5 separate regions of the Homo sapiens genome follow, and regions 2, 3, 4 and 5 are each linked to region 1. Evidence: promoter capture Hi-C in human tissues and cell types (Jung and others, 2019). All regions are on one chromosome and are shown on one strand. Each heading gives the region's core, a stretch centred on a gene start or on the middle of the fragment in contact. The rest is flanking DNA. Distances are from core to core; before and after follow the strand shown. Region 1 holds the start of SLC19A1 (solute carrier family 19 member 1). Region 2 holds the start of DIP2A (disco interacting protein 2 homolog A). Region 3 holds the start of C21orf58 (chromosome 21 open reading frame 58). Region 4 holds the start of ITGB2 (integrin subunit beta 2). Region 5 overlaps SLX9 (SLX9 ribosome biogenesis factor).

The links. The method cuts DNA at HindIII sites, captures the fragments that hold promoters and counts their contacts. A contact is called where the count stands out against the background at its distance.
Region 2: a contact is called between the fragment with the promoter of DIP2A here and the fragment with the promoter of SLC19A1 in region 1, in 1 of the 25 tissues and cell types used here (mesendoderm cells).
Region 3: the fragment with the promoter of C21orf58 here is called in contact with the fragment with the promoter of SLC19A1 in region 1 in 1 of the 25 tissues and cell types used here (stomach).
Region 4: a contact is called between the fragment with the promoter of ITGB2 here and the fragment with the promoter of SLC19A1 in region 1, in 2 of the 25 tissues and cell types used here (lymphoblastoid cells and spleen).
Region 5: a contact is called between a fragment that was not itself captured here and the fragment with the promoter of SLC19A1 in region 1, in 1 of the 25 tissues and cell types used here (lymphoblastoid cells).

Annotation. Positions count from the first base shown.
Region 1 is chr21:45,540,900-45,543,818 of GRCh38, reverse strand. It overlaps SLC19A1 (solute carrier family 19 member 1), which reads left to right and starts at 1,379. Exons shown (of 6, transcript NM_194255.4): 1 at 1,379-1,451. RefSeq lists silencers at 1,106-1,185, 1,226-1,535, 1,886-1,945 and an enhancer at 739-1,251. The HindIII fragment of the contact is 13,138 bases long and covers 1-2,919 here.
Region 2 is chr21:46,457,406-46,460,324 of GRCh38, reverse strand. It overlaps DIP2A (disco interacting protein 2 homolog A), which reads right to left and starts at 1,434. Exons shown (of 38, transcript NM_015151.4): 1 at 1,103-1,434. The coding sequence starts at 1,193. LOC124905046 (a long non-coding RNA gene) reads left to right here and starts at 1,612. Exons shown (of 2, transcript XR_007067915.1): 1 at 1,612-1,998. RefSeq lists enhancers at 241-310, 2,081-2,220 and silencers at 1,031-1,100, 1,291-1,840. The HindIII fragment of the contact is 5,308 bases long and covers 1-2,454 here.
Region 3 is chr21:46,322,503-46,325,421 of GRCh38, reverse strand. It overlaps C21orf58 (chromosome 21 open reading frame 58), which reads left to right and starts at 1,552. Exons shown (of 8, transcript NM_058180.5): 1 at 1,552-2,783. The coding sequence starts at 2,684. PCNT (pericentrin) reads right to left here and starts at 1,266. Exons shown (of 47, transcript NM_006031.6): 1 at 1,140-1,266. The coding sequence starts at 1,193. RefSeq lists silencers at 474-933, 1,204-1,533 and an enhancer at 1,884-2,023. The HindIII fragment of the contact is 24,092 bases long and covers 1-2,919 here.
Region 4 is chr21:44,919,362-44,922,280 of GRCh38, reverse strand. ITGB2 (integrin subunit beta 2) reads left to right here and starts at 1,382. Exons shown (of 16, transcript NM_000211.5): 1 at 1,382-1,460. It overlaps ITGB2-AS1 (ITGB2 antisense RNA 1), which reads right to left and starts at 1,246. Exons shown (of 3, transcript NR_038316.1): 1 at 954-1,246. RefSeq lists a silencer at 2,732-2,791. The HindIII fragment of the contact is 46,650 bases long and covers 1-2,919 here.
Region 5 is chr21:44,946,629-44,949,547 of GRCh38, reverse strand. The region is part of intron 2 of SLX9 (SLX9 ribosome biogenesis factor); the gene reads right to left. Among named protein-coding and RNA genes, the nearest start is that of SLX9, 8.1 kb to the right of the region's middle. RefSeq lists enhancers at 1-14, 1-140. The HindIII fragment of the contact is 5,432 bases long and covers 1-2,919 here.

The sequences.
Region 1 (2,919 bases), core at 130-2,629:
GGGAGAGAGCCAGGGCTCCCACAAAGCAGGGGGTCCCTCCAGGTGAGGCGCTCCATCCTGTAGTGTTCCCTTAAATTCTGCAAGCTACCCCAGATCCCCCATTTCCAGCCAACAAATCCTTTTTAAGTTCCTTTGAGATTTGTTCGTGTGGCTTGCTACACTCAGGACTCTGGAAAGAAGGCCCAGGCCAGAGCTTTGGGCAGGCGGCCATTTAGGGCAAGGGCCCTGTGTTGGCTTCCTGGTGGGGTTGCCCTGCTGGTGGGCGGGAGACCAAGAGCACCCCCGCAACACCAGGAGGCAGGTCGCGGATTGTGCTGTCTACACTCCGGAAGGGGTACATTCCAGGGGCTGCTGCCCCAGACTCACCCCTCGCCTGGGACCCGCACTCTTGAGCTGTGGGTACCACGGTGGCCGTCCCCTTCTGTTCTGTGCAGTGGACTTCCTGGCTCCTCCTTAGCCTTGGGGCCCCCACAGCCCTCGGCTTGGCTTCCCTCCCCATAGCCAGGCCCTGGGTAACTCCAGGGGAAAGTGACCCTGAGGCCCCCCACTTCTCCCCGTGTCCTGCACAGGCCTTGGGCTTTCGGCGGTGCTGTCTGCCGCAGCCCCACGCCTTCCTGGGAGAGTGGCCCAGGCCCCCCTTCCTGAGTGTGACTGCGCTGCCGTCTGCGAGGCCTGCGCGGGTCTCCCCCGGGCTGTCCCTGCTGGGATGGGGACTGGTGGCCCCGGGCCACGTCCTGGATCCGGCTTGCTCCTTGGTACAAGCCCGTACGGGTCACGGTCAGGCAGGAGGGCGGGCGGCGGGGTCCCGGGGGCGCCGAGTTCGGGGCCGTGCGGTCCCCAAGAGCAGGCTGTGCGTGTCCCTGTTGGAGCCCCACGAAGGCGGCCCAGGGCCACCCCTGAGGGCGCGTGGGCCCGACCCGCGTCCCGGATCCAGCTTGCGGCCAGGAATGCAGGTGTTCCAGGGTGCCAAAAGGAAAACGCACAAGGCCTCGTCGAGGAGGGGGGGTCAGGAGGGGACCGGGGGTGGGAAGAACGCGGGGGAGAGGGATGGCAGGGTGCCCGCCCGAGGGACCGACACCTCCGCGAGTGGCACCCCAGGATGCTGACGCCGGCGGGGGTGGGGGCCCGAGGGGCGGTCGGGGTCAGGGGGCGGCCCCAGGGGTAGGGCCGCAGCACGAGGGGCCGCGTGACCCCGGCGGTGACCGGGTGGGGAGAGGCCGGCGCCGGGGCTGGGAGACGGCCGTGGGTGGGAGGGTGCCCCGTGGGGACGCTCCTGCCGCAGCGCCCGGCCACGCGCGAGGCCCCGCCCTCAGGACGCGTTCGGCGGGACGGACCCGCCCACCCCGCAGCCGCGCGCCCGCCGCGCCGCCTTGTGGGCGCTGTAGTCCCGGAGTCCGCGTGCGCGGGGCCGGGTCCGGGAGCCCCAGGGCAGCCGCCCCGCCGAGTCGCAGGTACCGGTGGGGAACGGGGCCACGGGGCCGCGTGTCGGGGGCTGCGGGGTGTCTCGGGGCCCTGGGGTGAGTGCGGGGCGCGGGCCGAGGTTTGCAGGGCCCTGTGAGGTGAGTGTGGGGGCTGGCGCTGGGGTCCGCGGGGCCCTGGGGAGGGTGCGGGGCGTGGGCCGGGGTCTGCGGTCTGCAGCCTGGGGTCCGCGGGGCCCTGGGGAGGGTGCGGGGCGTGGGCCGGGGTCTGCGGTCTGCAGCCTGGGGTCTGGGGGGCCCTGGGGAGGGTGCGGGGCGTGGCCGGGGTCTGCGGTCTGCAGCCTGGGGTCTGGGGGGCCCTGGGGAGGGTGCGGGGCGTGGGCCGGGGTCTCCGCGGGGGTCGCGGTGGCCCGGGCGCCTGGCAGAACCGTTGCTGTGCAGCGGGTTTCCCGCCGCTCGCTTTCCGCCGCAGCCTGCGAATGGGGTGGGGAGTCCCGGCCCCCAGCCTGCCCTCCGCGTCATCCTGGGGCGCCAAGTCCCACCCCCGGGTCTGGAGGAAAGCGTGGATCCGGCGTTCGCGCCCAGGCACGTGTTGCTTCGGGACGGGCCAGCCGGTGGGTGAACCCTGCCAGCCACGCGTGGGGCGGGCCCCTGGCACATCTCCAGACCATTGTCTCCTGTGCCAGAAGCTTTGTAGGTGCAACTTCCCCTTGGAGCAGCTGTGGGTGCGGATCCAGCGGAGCAATCCCGAGGCGTCTCAGAGAGAGCCTGGACAGCCGCTGGAGCCTTTCCCGAGTGGGTCCTTCCAACACCGCTACAGCAGGAAAGCCATCCCCCTAGGGTCCTGTCCATCGGAAACTCCTGTCCTGGGGAGTCTGGCCTGCCTGGCCTCAGGACACAGGCCAACTAAGCTGGCCCCGAAATCCAGAATGCATCCAGAGGGAAGGTGGGATAAAGTCCTTGGAGGCGCCTGTTGGCCGCCCTGTAAAGAGGTGGCCTCCCCCTACGGAGACCCGAGGATCCCCGCACAGCCCAGATTCAATCAGCAGAGCCGAGGTGCCTCTGGCCCAGTGCACCTGCCTGCCCTGTCCAGGCCTGGGAGCCAGGCTGCATCTCACTGGCCGCCTTTGCCTGGGTGCCACCTGTGCACTGCTTGTTGCAATTGCTAATTGCTTTCTTTCCGAAGGGGCTTTGGTGGATTTTTATAATTCCAGATAGTACAGTTATCTCTGCTGGACACAGATGAGAAAGAGTGCTTCTCGGGTGTTTGGGCCTGCAGCAGTGATAGCCGGAGGGTCTAATTATGCTGTTAGGAACCCTGAACTTGGTCATCTGAACAGGGGTGGGAGGGTGTGCAATGCTTTCTTCTTCTTCTTTTTAAACTAGCAGGCGTTCTAAAAAACATAACGAACATTCTTGGTTAGCCTTCCAGAGTAGGAGCTGGTTTAAACACGGAATGATAGGTGGCGTTTGCTTGTGTTTTGATTGCGGGTCTCTGGCC
Region 2 (2,919 bases), core at 185-2,684, 920 kb before region 1:
AAAGGAATATCAGGACACAGGCCTTGAAAGGGATAACATCCAAATGGGAAATGCCACCCACCACCTCTGAAGCCAGATTACTCCAGTCTATTTTTATCAACCAACCATTTATACGACTTTTTTTTTTTACTTTAAAAAATTCCATGAGGGGGCTAACAACTCCTAAGTGTTATGTGCTTTGCATATATTAAGGTATTTTAGCCTCATAACAATCCAAAATGGAAAGTGCTGGTATAACCCCACTTTATAGATAATAAAATGAGGCACAGGGTGCAGCTCCTAGAGTATGAGGCGCGCGGCAAGGGCTCCCAGCTCCAAGGGAAGTAGCTGCCTGCGGACAACGGGCGCAGTCATCCTGGTGAAGCCCAGACCAAGCCCAGACCTACAGCCTTGAGAAAAGCGGGGCTCACAGCTTGGGGCAAAAGTGGTCATTCCTCTCAAGATTCTCACACCTGTCCAAACGACCTAGTCAAAGCCAGTCCTTGGGGTCGGATCCCATTGGGGGAGCAGCTGGGGATAGGGAAAGGTCTCCAGAAGTTTGGCAGGCGTCCCGGGGTGAGGAGTAAGGGTCCCAGGTGTGAAGGGCCTGGGGGGAGGAGTCCTTGTATGGGGGAGGGGTCCTTGTATGAGAGGCGGGGCAGTGGTCCCTGGTTTGAGGGGCCGCGCGGGTGTCCCGGGGCTGAGGGTCGGGAGTCCGGAGGGGCAGCGCGGGGCTCCCAGGGTGAAGGGCGGGGTCCCCGGGGTGAGGGGCCGCGCGGGGTTCCGGGGGTGAGGGGCAGGAGGTCCCGGGGGTGAGGGGCGGGAGTTCCCGGGGGTAAGGGGCCGGGGTCTCGGGGCGAGGGGTCGTGCTGGGGTCCCACATGAGGGGCGGGGTCCTAGGGTTGAGGAACGGTGTCTCCGGGGCGAGGGGCGGGTTCCAGGGTAGAGGAACCGGGGTCCCGTTGAGGGGCAGAGGTCCCAGGGGCGAGGCCGCGTGGGGGTCCCGGGGGTGAAGGGCGGGGGTCCTGGAGTGAGGGGCCGCGCGGGGGTCCCGGAGTGAGGGGCTGCGCGGGGGACCGGGCTGAGGGCGGGTCGCGGGGGTTGAGGGCGGGGTCCGGCTCACCTTCCGACAGCTCCAGCTCCAGCTCAGCCAGGCTCTCCCGCACCTCGGCAGGCAGCGGCGCCGCCTCCAGCGGGCACCCGCGGTCAGCCATGGCCAGGCCGGCTAGCGTCCGGGCAGAGGCTGGAACCGGACCGGGCCTGGCGGCGGCAGCGCAAACCTCGGCTACGTAGCTCCCCTCAGGCCAACAACCTACATCCGCCAGGCGAGGAGCGGGAGGCGGCGGGACAGGGGCGCGGCCAGGACAGCAACGCACCCGCGCGGGCACGAGCGCGGATGGCTCCGCCGCGCCGCCGCTGCCCCGCGCGCTCCTGAGCGCCCGGCCGGCCCTACACGGGAGCGCGTGCGCGGCGGGAAGGGCGGGTAGCGAGCGCGCGTGCGCAGTGGGTCTCGGGCCCGCGCAGCCCTCCCGGCCCCGCCCAGCAACACCAGAGCCTCGCTTCCATTGGCCCCGAAGACGCGTCGATGCCGCTCCGGGCTCCCATTGGGAGAGGCGGGAGAGCGCCGCTCCCGACAGGCTCTGCGCTGGGCCTGCTTGAGGGTGGCGGGCTTGAGGCGGGCAGGCTGCTTAGTTGCGGCCCGAGGCGCCTAAGTGGGGATGACCAACCCGTGGGCGTTGGCGCTGACCCCTAGGCGCCGCTGGTGGCCCCGCGCGCGGCCCTCCGGCCAGCCCCGCCCCTCTCGGGGCTCCTCCTTGGTCCCCGCGCCATGGCGCGTCCGCGTTGACCGCTGTCTTCCCTTTCGGGCTGTGCTGATCGCGAACGCTGCGCAGTCCGTGGTGGCGTCGAGGCACCTTTCTCGTGCCTTTACCTGTGTTCACTCCTTTGCTTTAAAAAACAGCCCTAGAAGTACACATCGTTGGCCCCGAAGGAGCCCCAGCAGCCATGTCGGACCGCGAGGTGACCTTGGAGGGCGGGAGGACGGACGAGGGGCCTGGCGGAGCTAGACTGAGAGGGCGCCGCCGGCGTCCTGAAGGCCCTGCTCCCCGAATGTGTGGGAGTGTGTCTGACGGTGCGAGGGTGGCTGTGGCGGGGCCTGAGCAGCGTGTCCGTGTCCCGATGCCGCCCGCCTGTTACTGAGTTAGGCAGGAGTGCCCGAGTCTGGCGAACTTCAGCAGTTCTCGTTCCAGAGCTCCACACGAGGTTGGCCAAAGCTTTGCGGGACTTACATACCCTTCTTCCTCCGCCCAGTCCTGCTTCCTTCCCCTTCCTTTCACGGGTGTTGATACCATGTCAACATCCTCGTACCCCAAACTCAGTCGCAGCGTCTGCTTCTGGAGAAACCATTCTGCAGCATTAAAGCTGGTGAGAAGATGGGATTCGAGGCTGCATCACTCACCAGTGGTGAAGTAGGAGGGTGAACTAGTGAAATGGAATCCACGAGTGGGTGAAGTATCAGACATTTCATATATGGTGAACGTAGTAGATAAAAGGAAGGAAAGGGGGATTGGATAGCTATTGCTTAGTGCCAACCGAGACTCTTAAGAATAGTGGTCAGCTGAAGGCAAGCAACAAACAGTTGTAAGCCAGTGAATCTGTCCCGTTACATATAGAGAAGCTTCATTTACTGCAGCAGGTCAAAGACAAGAACCAGGCCCAGGAATTAACATCCCTGTTTGACTGAACTCCAAAAATAGCAAAACACCCAAACAAGGCAATACTCTTCCACTAAGTTTGGATCCCTGCTAAGAAAAGATGAGGCTGGGCACAGTGGCTCACACCTGTAATCCCAGCACTTTGGGAGGCCAAGGCGGGAAGATTGCTTGAGTTCAGGAGTTCAAGACCAGCTTGGGCAACATGACAAAACCCCATCTCTACTGA
Region 3 (2,919 bases), core at 303-2,802, 780 kb before region 1:
ACAGGCGGCGTCTTGTCCCTCCCTCCCCCCTCCACCCTCCTGGGAGCTCTGCTCCTGTTCGCAGCTCCCTGCAGGCTCCGGGCTCCCCTTCCCCTCCTGCCCGCCTCAGCCCTTCCCCGGCCTAGCCCCGCGTCCCCTGTCCGCCGTGCCCGGGAGCCCCGCTCTTCCCCAGCACCCCAGCCAGAACATCCTGGGGGGGAGCGGCGCGCACCTCGCAGAGGCCGGCCTGCTCCCGCGGTTCCGCCTCGCGCTTTCGGGACTCCCTTTCTCCTGCCCCCGAGTCATGGGCTCTGCGCGCTTTATTCCCACGAAACCTAGGACAGTGGCCATCAAACCGAGCGCTTTTTCACGGAGAAACCCGGGGCGGGAGAAAGACGGGAGCGCGTCCCTTGAAGGCGCCCGGCGCCAGCGCCGCGTGGGTTCCCGGCAGCGTACGCCAGGCCCGGACGGGCAGGACGCGAGCCCAAGGGCGCGGGAAGAAGACGGCGGCCGGGAGCGCCGCGGGGGCCTTTCACACAGTAAGGACTGCAACGCCGCGAGAAACGCGCGGGGAAAGCATCTCCGACGGACGAGGCGAAGGCGCACCCTGGGGAGGCGCTGCAGGCCACCCGCGCCACGCCCCCGGCCCCGGCCGCGCAGGAAACTGGCCCTAGACCAAGCAGCCACCCGAATACCGGCCGCCCGCCCCAGGCCACCCGGTCCCGGAGGACGCGGGAGCCACTGGAAGATCCAGCCTGGGGTCCAGCGCCTGCCGCGCCCCACCCCCTCCGTGCAGCCACGCCACGCCCCTGTAGCCCCGCCCTGCAGCCACACCCCGCCCCGGCGTGCACCGCGCCCAGCCCGCGCCCCACCCCCCCCGACGCAGGCGCAGCCCCGCCCCGGCCCGCCCGAGAGGCGCCGCGCGTCCCGGCCGCTGATTGGCTGTGGCCGCGGCGGGGGCGGGACCTGGCGGAGAGCGGCGGATTCAAGATGGCGGCGGCCAGGAGGCGGCTTCCAGCGGAGCCGGCGGGAAAAAGCGAGACCTCCGCGGCGGCTTCCGCCGGACCGCGTCCTCTCCTGGCAGGGGGCGGTGGCGGGCACCGGAGCCGCCCTTAGGACTTCACGCCAGAGCAGCTAGAGAAGAAGCCCCTAATGTTTACCTTCGTCCTCCCGGCCTCCACCTTTCTGCGCCGCTGCTCTTGCTCAACTTCCATCTCCCTCAGACTCCGCGCGGGCCGCCCGGCGGTGACGGGGCTGACACAGAGCAGCCTTCGCTCTATTTACACTCCCTCCCCCGCGCTTGGGCTCGCCCTCCCCCCGCGACAACTGTCACGCAGCCGCGGCCCCGCCCCCGACACGCGCCGCCAATCAGGGGGCTGCGTTTCCGGTCTCGCGCACGCGCGCTCTGGGCGGTGCAGCCTGGGCGGAGCCCCGCCCTTTACGCTCGCCGGCCACAGATTGGTGCGCTCACGTACCCGCCTCCTACGGCAGGACCAGTAAGCGGAAAGCGGAGGCCTGGCGCCCGCTGTGATTGGCCGATTTTAAAATCCCCTGCCAGGCTGGCCGAGCGGCAAAAAGTTCGCGCTGCTGGTCCCGCGCGGGCGGCCCCTGGGCTTTGTGTCCACCAGGACAGCGGGCCGGGCTCCCTGCAGGCGCGGGCGGCGCCGAACGGTGCTCAGCAACCACCCGGACAGGGCCAGGCCGTTTTCTCCCGCTCAGGCATTAGTCGTTGGCTGTGGGCCGCCGCGGGAAGTTGAGGCCTACCACGGAGGAGGCTGCTGAGGTGGATCTCAGGGGATCCGCAAGGGCTCCCTCACCCTTGCCGGGACCCTGGGAACCCGAAACAAAATCCTACGCCACCAGCCCGCCGAATGCGCCCCCTCGGCCGGGGGTCCTGGGTCTTCAGAGAAGAACTCGGCCGAATGCGGTCAGAAAGCCCGCGAACCGCCTGGACCTGCAGGCCCCGCCGCTTGGAGCTCCCGCCTTTCCCGACCGAGCCCGTGTCTGCTCGTGTGTCTCACTGATGTCTTAGGTCTCAAAAAAAAAAGAAAAGAAAAGGTTTTTAGTAGACAGAAGAGAAATGGGGCCGTGGGTTCGTGGTCCCAGGGGGAAACTGACGTCGCATGAGGTCGTCGTCCCTCAGCTTGAGCTCAGCGGAACATAAGCTTGCAGAGGTGGAAACCACGGAAGGTTTGGGTGTCTTGGAGCTCTCTGGACACCGAAGCCCGGACACAGTCCCGGGGTCCGCACCGCCTGTGACCTGTGGCGGGACCGCCGGGGTGGGCGTTTTCTCAGCTGGCGCGCGCGTAGGTGGAACTTGGGAAACTAACTGGAGCGAAGTGGCAAAAAACCAAGACAGGGCCGGTGACCTCGCGCAGGCCGTCCTTAACTGTGGAGTATTCCTTCAGCTAACCCCTTTATTTCATGTGTCCAAGTCTGGTTTCTGGGTTTCTTTGTAGTCCTCCGGGCCTGTTCGTGCGCCTTCACTTGCAAAAGGTTCGTCGTGGAGGGCCGTGTGCTTGTTTGCAGCAGTAACGATGCCCTTCCCGAGCGTGCTGGAGTGGCTCCTCGCTGACGCAAGCTCACCTTGCAGCCTCCTCAGCAACTGCAACTTAAACGCGCCCTCAGGAAGCCCTGGAATCTCGCTCAGAATTTTTTTTCTTTTTTTGAGACAGTCTCGCTGCGACGCCCAGGCTATAGCGCAATGGCGCGATCTCGGCTCCCTGCAACCTCCCTCAGGAAGCCGTGGAAGCTCGACCGCCAGAAACTTCCTTCTCCTGACTCAGGCCACAGTCTTCTGTGTGGTGAGCGGGGTGTCCAGCGGTCTCCTGGTTCCCAGACTCGGAATTGGGTGGTTTGAGCAAACTCTGGGCAGTGGGCTCATTAGAGCAGGGGCCAGGCAGGCAACACAGCCAAGCGAGCAGGGGCTGCACCCACAGG
Region 4 (2,919 bases), core at 133-2,632, 620 kb after region 1:
AATGCCCACTGACAAGCATCTATATTCCTCCCCAGATAGGATGGAACGGCAATGTGCTCCCTGGCCCCTCCCAACCCAGTCCTCTAGGCGTTTTGTTTCACAGCGTTAATATTCTTACCACTATTTTTTAAATCAACAGGTTATGACATCATAATTTTTACTTATTTCTTTGCCCAACTTTGTATCATCTGCTCTTGTATTTCTCATGGATTTCTTCATGTCTATTTCTGCAAGACATCTTTAAAACAGAGTTTAGGAGCCGGGAGCCATGGCTCACGCCAGTAATCCCAGCACTTTGGAAGGCAGAGGTGGATGGATCACTTGAAGCCAGGAGTTCAAGACCAGCCTGGTCAACATAGTGAAACCCTGTCTCTACTAAGAATACAAAAATTACCCAGGCGTGGTGGTACATGTGCCTGTAATCCCAGCTACTTGGGAGGCTGAGGCAGGAGAATTGCTTGAACCCGGGAGGCAGAGGTTGCAGTGAGCTGAGATCACGCCACTGCACTCCAGCCTGGGTGACAAAAGCAAAACTCTGTCTCAAAAAAAACTGAAAACATAAAAATAAATAAATAAATAAAACAGAGTTTAGGGTAGTAATGTGTCTGAGTCCTTGCTCTGAAGATGTCTGATTTGGGTTTTTTTTCTAGGTATAATCTCTTTCCCTCCTCTTCCTCCTCCTCCTCCTCTCCCTTCTCTCTCTCTCTGAGCCTGTAGTATTTTCCCTTTCGTGTTCTGTGGTATCCTCCTAATGTCCCTAGTTAACAGGACCTCATCCATCCATCCCTGGGGTGTTCAGTGGCCTCGCAATCCACGTCCCCGCCCAGATCCGCAGCCTTCCTCCTGTGACCTGAGTGTCTCCTCCTCGCTGTCCCTGTTCTGTCCCCTCCCGCCCTCACATGCAGGTGGATGTCAATGCGTGCACGCACCCAGGTTTTCTTGCCTGTTCCCACCTCTTTATCCTCCTTGGCTGGTTCCTCCGCTCCATTCTCTGGCTCAGGAATTTGCTCCCCAGGGTTTTTCATTCCGCTCTGTAGCAGAATGTGCTACTGTTGCTTTCCAGCATCAAACTTTTCACTCCCATGGCCTCTGTGTTCTTCTTCCTAATGGGTGCCCTTTCTGCCTGGCGCTCCTGGAGGCCGGGCCCCTCTCCCAAGTGTGAATCTGATGGAAGCAGGTCCTTCTCGCCGGGACCTCATGTGAGAAATGACATGTCCCACCTGTCTCAAGGGGCCGCTCTCTGACATCAGAGCTGCTGTAGAGCGGAGAGGGGCAGGGGTGAAGGGCCACGGTGGTGCAACCCACCACTTCCTCCAAGGAGGAGCTGAGAGGAACAGGAAGTGTCAGGACTTTACGACCCGCGCCTCCAGCTGAGGTTTCTAGACGTGACCCAGGGCAGACTGGTAGCAAAGCCCCCACGCCCAGCCAGGAGCACCGCCGAGGACTCCAGCACACCGAGGGTGAGTGTGCAGAGGCCCCGCTATGTCCACGGTGATTTTTGGAGGGAAGCACTCTCCTGCCCCAGCCTGGAGTGACCCTGGTGGCCCTGCTTATAGCCCCGGCCCAGGGGTGTCTGGCAGGAAGGGGTCTCCAGACCGTCTGCTCCAGGGTCCCCTTTGAGACCCGGCAAGGGGAAGTGCCTGCCACCAAGAGCAGAGCCACATGGTGTGCTGGGAGCGCTTGCGGCTGAGGATGGGGCCGGCATGGGAGGACAAGGGGCTGTGAGGCCGGCAAGGCCAGGAAGAGGCTGGGCCCACAAGCCCCTAGGGGGACGGCTGGGGGGTCCTGGTGCTCCGGGCTGGGCAGGAGGCAGGTTCCCGGGGCCTCCTCTGTGAACCTGCTGCGCCTGCCTGTGTTAGGCCCTCCTGTCTGCATGCTGCCCCGCCTGGCTACAGCGATTCCATCTCCAGATCGACTCGCAGTGTGTGGTGTGTGATATGGTGTGGTGTGGTTCGTGGTGTGTAGTGTCGTGTGTGTAGTGTGGCATGGTGTGCATGTATGGTGCACGTGTGTGGCATAGCGTAGTGTGGTGTGTGTGTGTGCATGTATGGTGTGCGAGTGTGCGCATGTGATGTGGGGAGTCTGTTGTATGTACATGTATGGTGCACATGTGTAATGTAGTGTGGTGTGGTGTGGCACATGCTCCATGCTCCTCTGGGACCCTCGAGCTTCCCTGCCTCCTCCGTGGGGACCCCTGGGTGACGTCTTGCTGTAGGGGAGCGGGCACCGCTGTGCGATTCTGGTCGAGTTGGTTCAGCTGGTGACCCTGGCCTCCCCACAACAGGCTCCTGGAGGCCATTCCCAAGGTCCTGGTGGGAGGGGGATTGAAGCCACGCCCCTGGGTCCCAGGCCCACCTGGCCCCCTTCCCCCAACACTGCACTCTTGGGGCCAGCCCTCCCCATGCATCCTCCACCCCTGGCACCACCCCTTGCACCACCGTCCCCACACCCAATCCCCCCTCCCCTGGATCTGGGAGCTGGGATTCTGCCCTGCTGTCCCTGTCCATCCGGGGCCCCTCTCCTCTGTCAGTTCCTGGGTGGGGAGAAGGAGGGGTGGCATGGCTGCAATGGGGAAGGGGGGGGATGGCCGGAGAGCTCAGCCTGGGAGCGAGCTGTGGGGGCATAGGGGACACTCGCTGTCACTCGCCTTCCCCGTGACGGTGGCGCAACGCCTGCGGGTTTGGGGGCTGAGGCCGGATTCTGGAGGCTTCACAGAAATGAGCTGCTAGAAGCTCTGGGCTGTCTGCCGTCACCCCAGCGTTTCACCATGAGTGAAGCCCAGCTCACTGCAGAATCCATGCCCAGCTCACTGCAGAATCCCCGGGGGCCAGCACTTTACCAAGAGTGGCCTCCAGACTCCACATTTTAGGAAGGAACTCCTTCCCCATCCAGCTCACAGCAGAATCCCCAGGGTCCCTG
Region 5 (2,919 bases), core at 251-2,750, 590 kb after region 1:
CTCCATGGTGCGCTCTGGCCTGCTGCTGCTGCACAGAGGGTTCTGGGGGGTAGGCGGAGCTGGGGCCGCGCTTTGGGGACCCGGACAGCAGTGTGGTCCCTGTGTCCACCCGGCCGAGGGTGCTGGGTTCCTCTGGAGGAGGCTATGGTGCAGGGCCGCCTGGGCTGCATCCCTAGGATCCACCCCACATCGGTGTGACTGCCAGGCCCGACACTCCTGACAGCCGGGCCCAGGGCCCAGGGCCCACAATCCACTCCCTGATCAGGAGCAGCCCCCGGGCAAGGCCACAAACCGTGCGAGGGGGAGCCAGGGCTGCATGCTCCACAGAGCCAGCAGGAGCGGGAGCAAGCAGCAGCCAAGTCGGGGCTCGGGACCCTGGCCTCTCTGCACTCTTACCCTTGCAGACTCAGAGATGCCTGCTCCTGCTGCCTGGCCTCTCCCTGCTTCCAACGCCCACTCCAATCTCAAAGGGGGGTTGGGGCTGAGCCCAGGTGCTGTCAGAGCCCGGCCGGGTGTGCACACACTCAGGCCCTGCCACCTTGGCCCCCTCTGGACCTTGGGCATCAACAAGCTCTGGGAGGAAGCCAAGGCGGGGGCTGAGGGTGGCTTGGCGCTGGCCTGCAATGGCCGGACCCCACACTTGCTCACACACACACTTCACCGCTCCACGCCTGACTCCAGTCTCCCTTGGAGGCATGAGATCCAGGCCAGTAGCATGAGCTGAGCTCAGCCTGCCAGGCCAAGTAGGTGAAATGAGCCCAGTGGGCCTGGACAAAACTCAAGCAAAGGTGCCACCGGCCACAGGTATCTGGCCAGAAAAGCAACACCCCCAAAATCCTGTACCACCACCGGCGCCTCTCATGCCCCCACCGCCCCCAAGCCGTCCACCATGCTGTGAGCTCCCTCTCCAGCAATGGTGACAGGCCTCCCAACATCCTCTGCTCCAGGGGCCCCCAGCCCCACCCGGCTCTGAGTCCATACCAGGCCTTGCCCCACCCTGCCTGTGTCTCTGAGCTTGAGTCCCAAGTGCCTGTCTGAAAACAGGTGGGCTCGTTTTCTGGTATGAAGGAACACAGAACTAGAAATCCAATTCTAAGCGTGCTCCATGACCAGCTCCCCAGACGCCCGGTGCTCCACGACCAGCTCCCCGGACCGCCCGATGCTGCATGACCAGCTCCCCGGACGCCCGATGCTCCACGACCAGCTCCCCGGACGCCCGATGCTCCACGACCAGCTCCCCGGACCGCCCGATGCTCCACGACCAGCTCCCCGGACCGCCCGATGCTTCACGACCAGCTCCCCGGACCGCCCGATGCTCCACGACCAGATTCCCGGACCGCCCGATGCTCCACGACCACCTCCCCGGATGCCCGATCGCCCGATGCTGCATGACCAGCTCCCCGGATGTCCGATGCCAAGGATTGGAGCCGTGCCCAAGGCTGGAGGATCAGCCACCACTGGACACCCGGCCGGCTGCCAGGCTCTGGTATTGCACAAGCCAGCTAGAGCTGGCCACACAGCACGCACAGCAGGTGGCACTGCGTTGGGGGAGGCTCAGGAGACGGGTGCTCACCCCGGCTCTGCCACAGGTCCCTCGCCACCCCCAGAGCGGACATGGAGGAGCTGTAGCCCCGACATGGGGTCCACAGGCTGCCGCAAAGCCCCTGCATGCACAACCCGGCCCACAGGCAAAGCTGAGTCCTGCTGGGGAGGTGCAGGGGGTCTTAGAGAGCTGGGGCGGGGAGGGGACTCTAGGCCAGCCTCAGCCCTGCACCCATGCCCTCCTCCTCCCGTAGCAGGAGGCTGCAGAGCTCAGAGGGTCCCTCCCAGGATGCCCGTAAGGGTAAGGCAGGCTCCAGGGCACAGGAAGGGAACAGGGGGTCAGATGTGGCTTCCTGGCGAGCTGGGATCCGAAGGGCTTGAAAAAAAACATAGGAACGATGCCATGAACTTGTCAGTCACAGGATAGGAACGATGCCATGAACTTGTCAGTCACAGGATAGGAACGATGCCACGAACTTGTCAGTCACAGGGACTAACAAGCCCCACCACTTCCCAGGGCTAGAGTGGGGGAGGAGGGGTGCAGATGGGCACACGGGTGTCCACCAGGTGATGGGCCACAGCCTAGACCCCTCCCCTGGGCCACCCAGCTCCTTGGCCAGAGACGCAGCATGCAGTGCTATTCCTGACTCAGGCAGGGCACGGACGATGAGACACATCTTGGGAAGGCGGTGTTGCACTAAGCCAGGCAGACAGGCACCCACAGGCCGCCACCTCACCTCCATAGCCAGGCGGGTCATTGAAGGGTGGCGGCCAAGTCACAGGATGCAGTATCTGCATGACATGGGCACTCAGGCCCCAGCACAAACCCGGGGTGGGGTGGGGGTAGGGACGCAGGGCACCAGCCAATCAGGAGCTGAGGAGACCACACCAAAAAAACAGAACTGTTCCTGGAGAGAGGGAGGAACATGGTGAGGAGCAGCCAAGATGCAAAGGACCCCACTGAGGCGCCTGGATACCTCGGAGGCCTGAAGAAAAGGGGCTGGGGCCCCCAGACCAGGGCAAGCCCCTCCGCCTGTGGGGCTACTCCTCTAAGGGTCTGCAGGTCCCACCCATGAGGGTCTGTGGGCCCTGCCACCCTGCCAAGCTGGTGCTTCACATCCCAGGGCAGGGGAAGTGGAGGCCTGTCCCTCCGTCTGAGCCCTCTGTGAGGTCCCATGGTCCCCTTCATCCAGCCCGGGGCTCTTCAGTGCAGAAAACCCACAGCAGGGCGGTGGAAGGAATATGCACCAGAACCCTGGGCTGAGAGCCACAGCCAGAGACGGCTGGCCAGAGGCCTCGCTCCAGGAGGGCTGTAATGGGGGCCCGCGGCGATGAGCTCAGAACGCCCCTCCCACAGGACAGCCTCCTGGAACACAC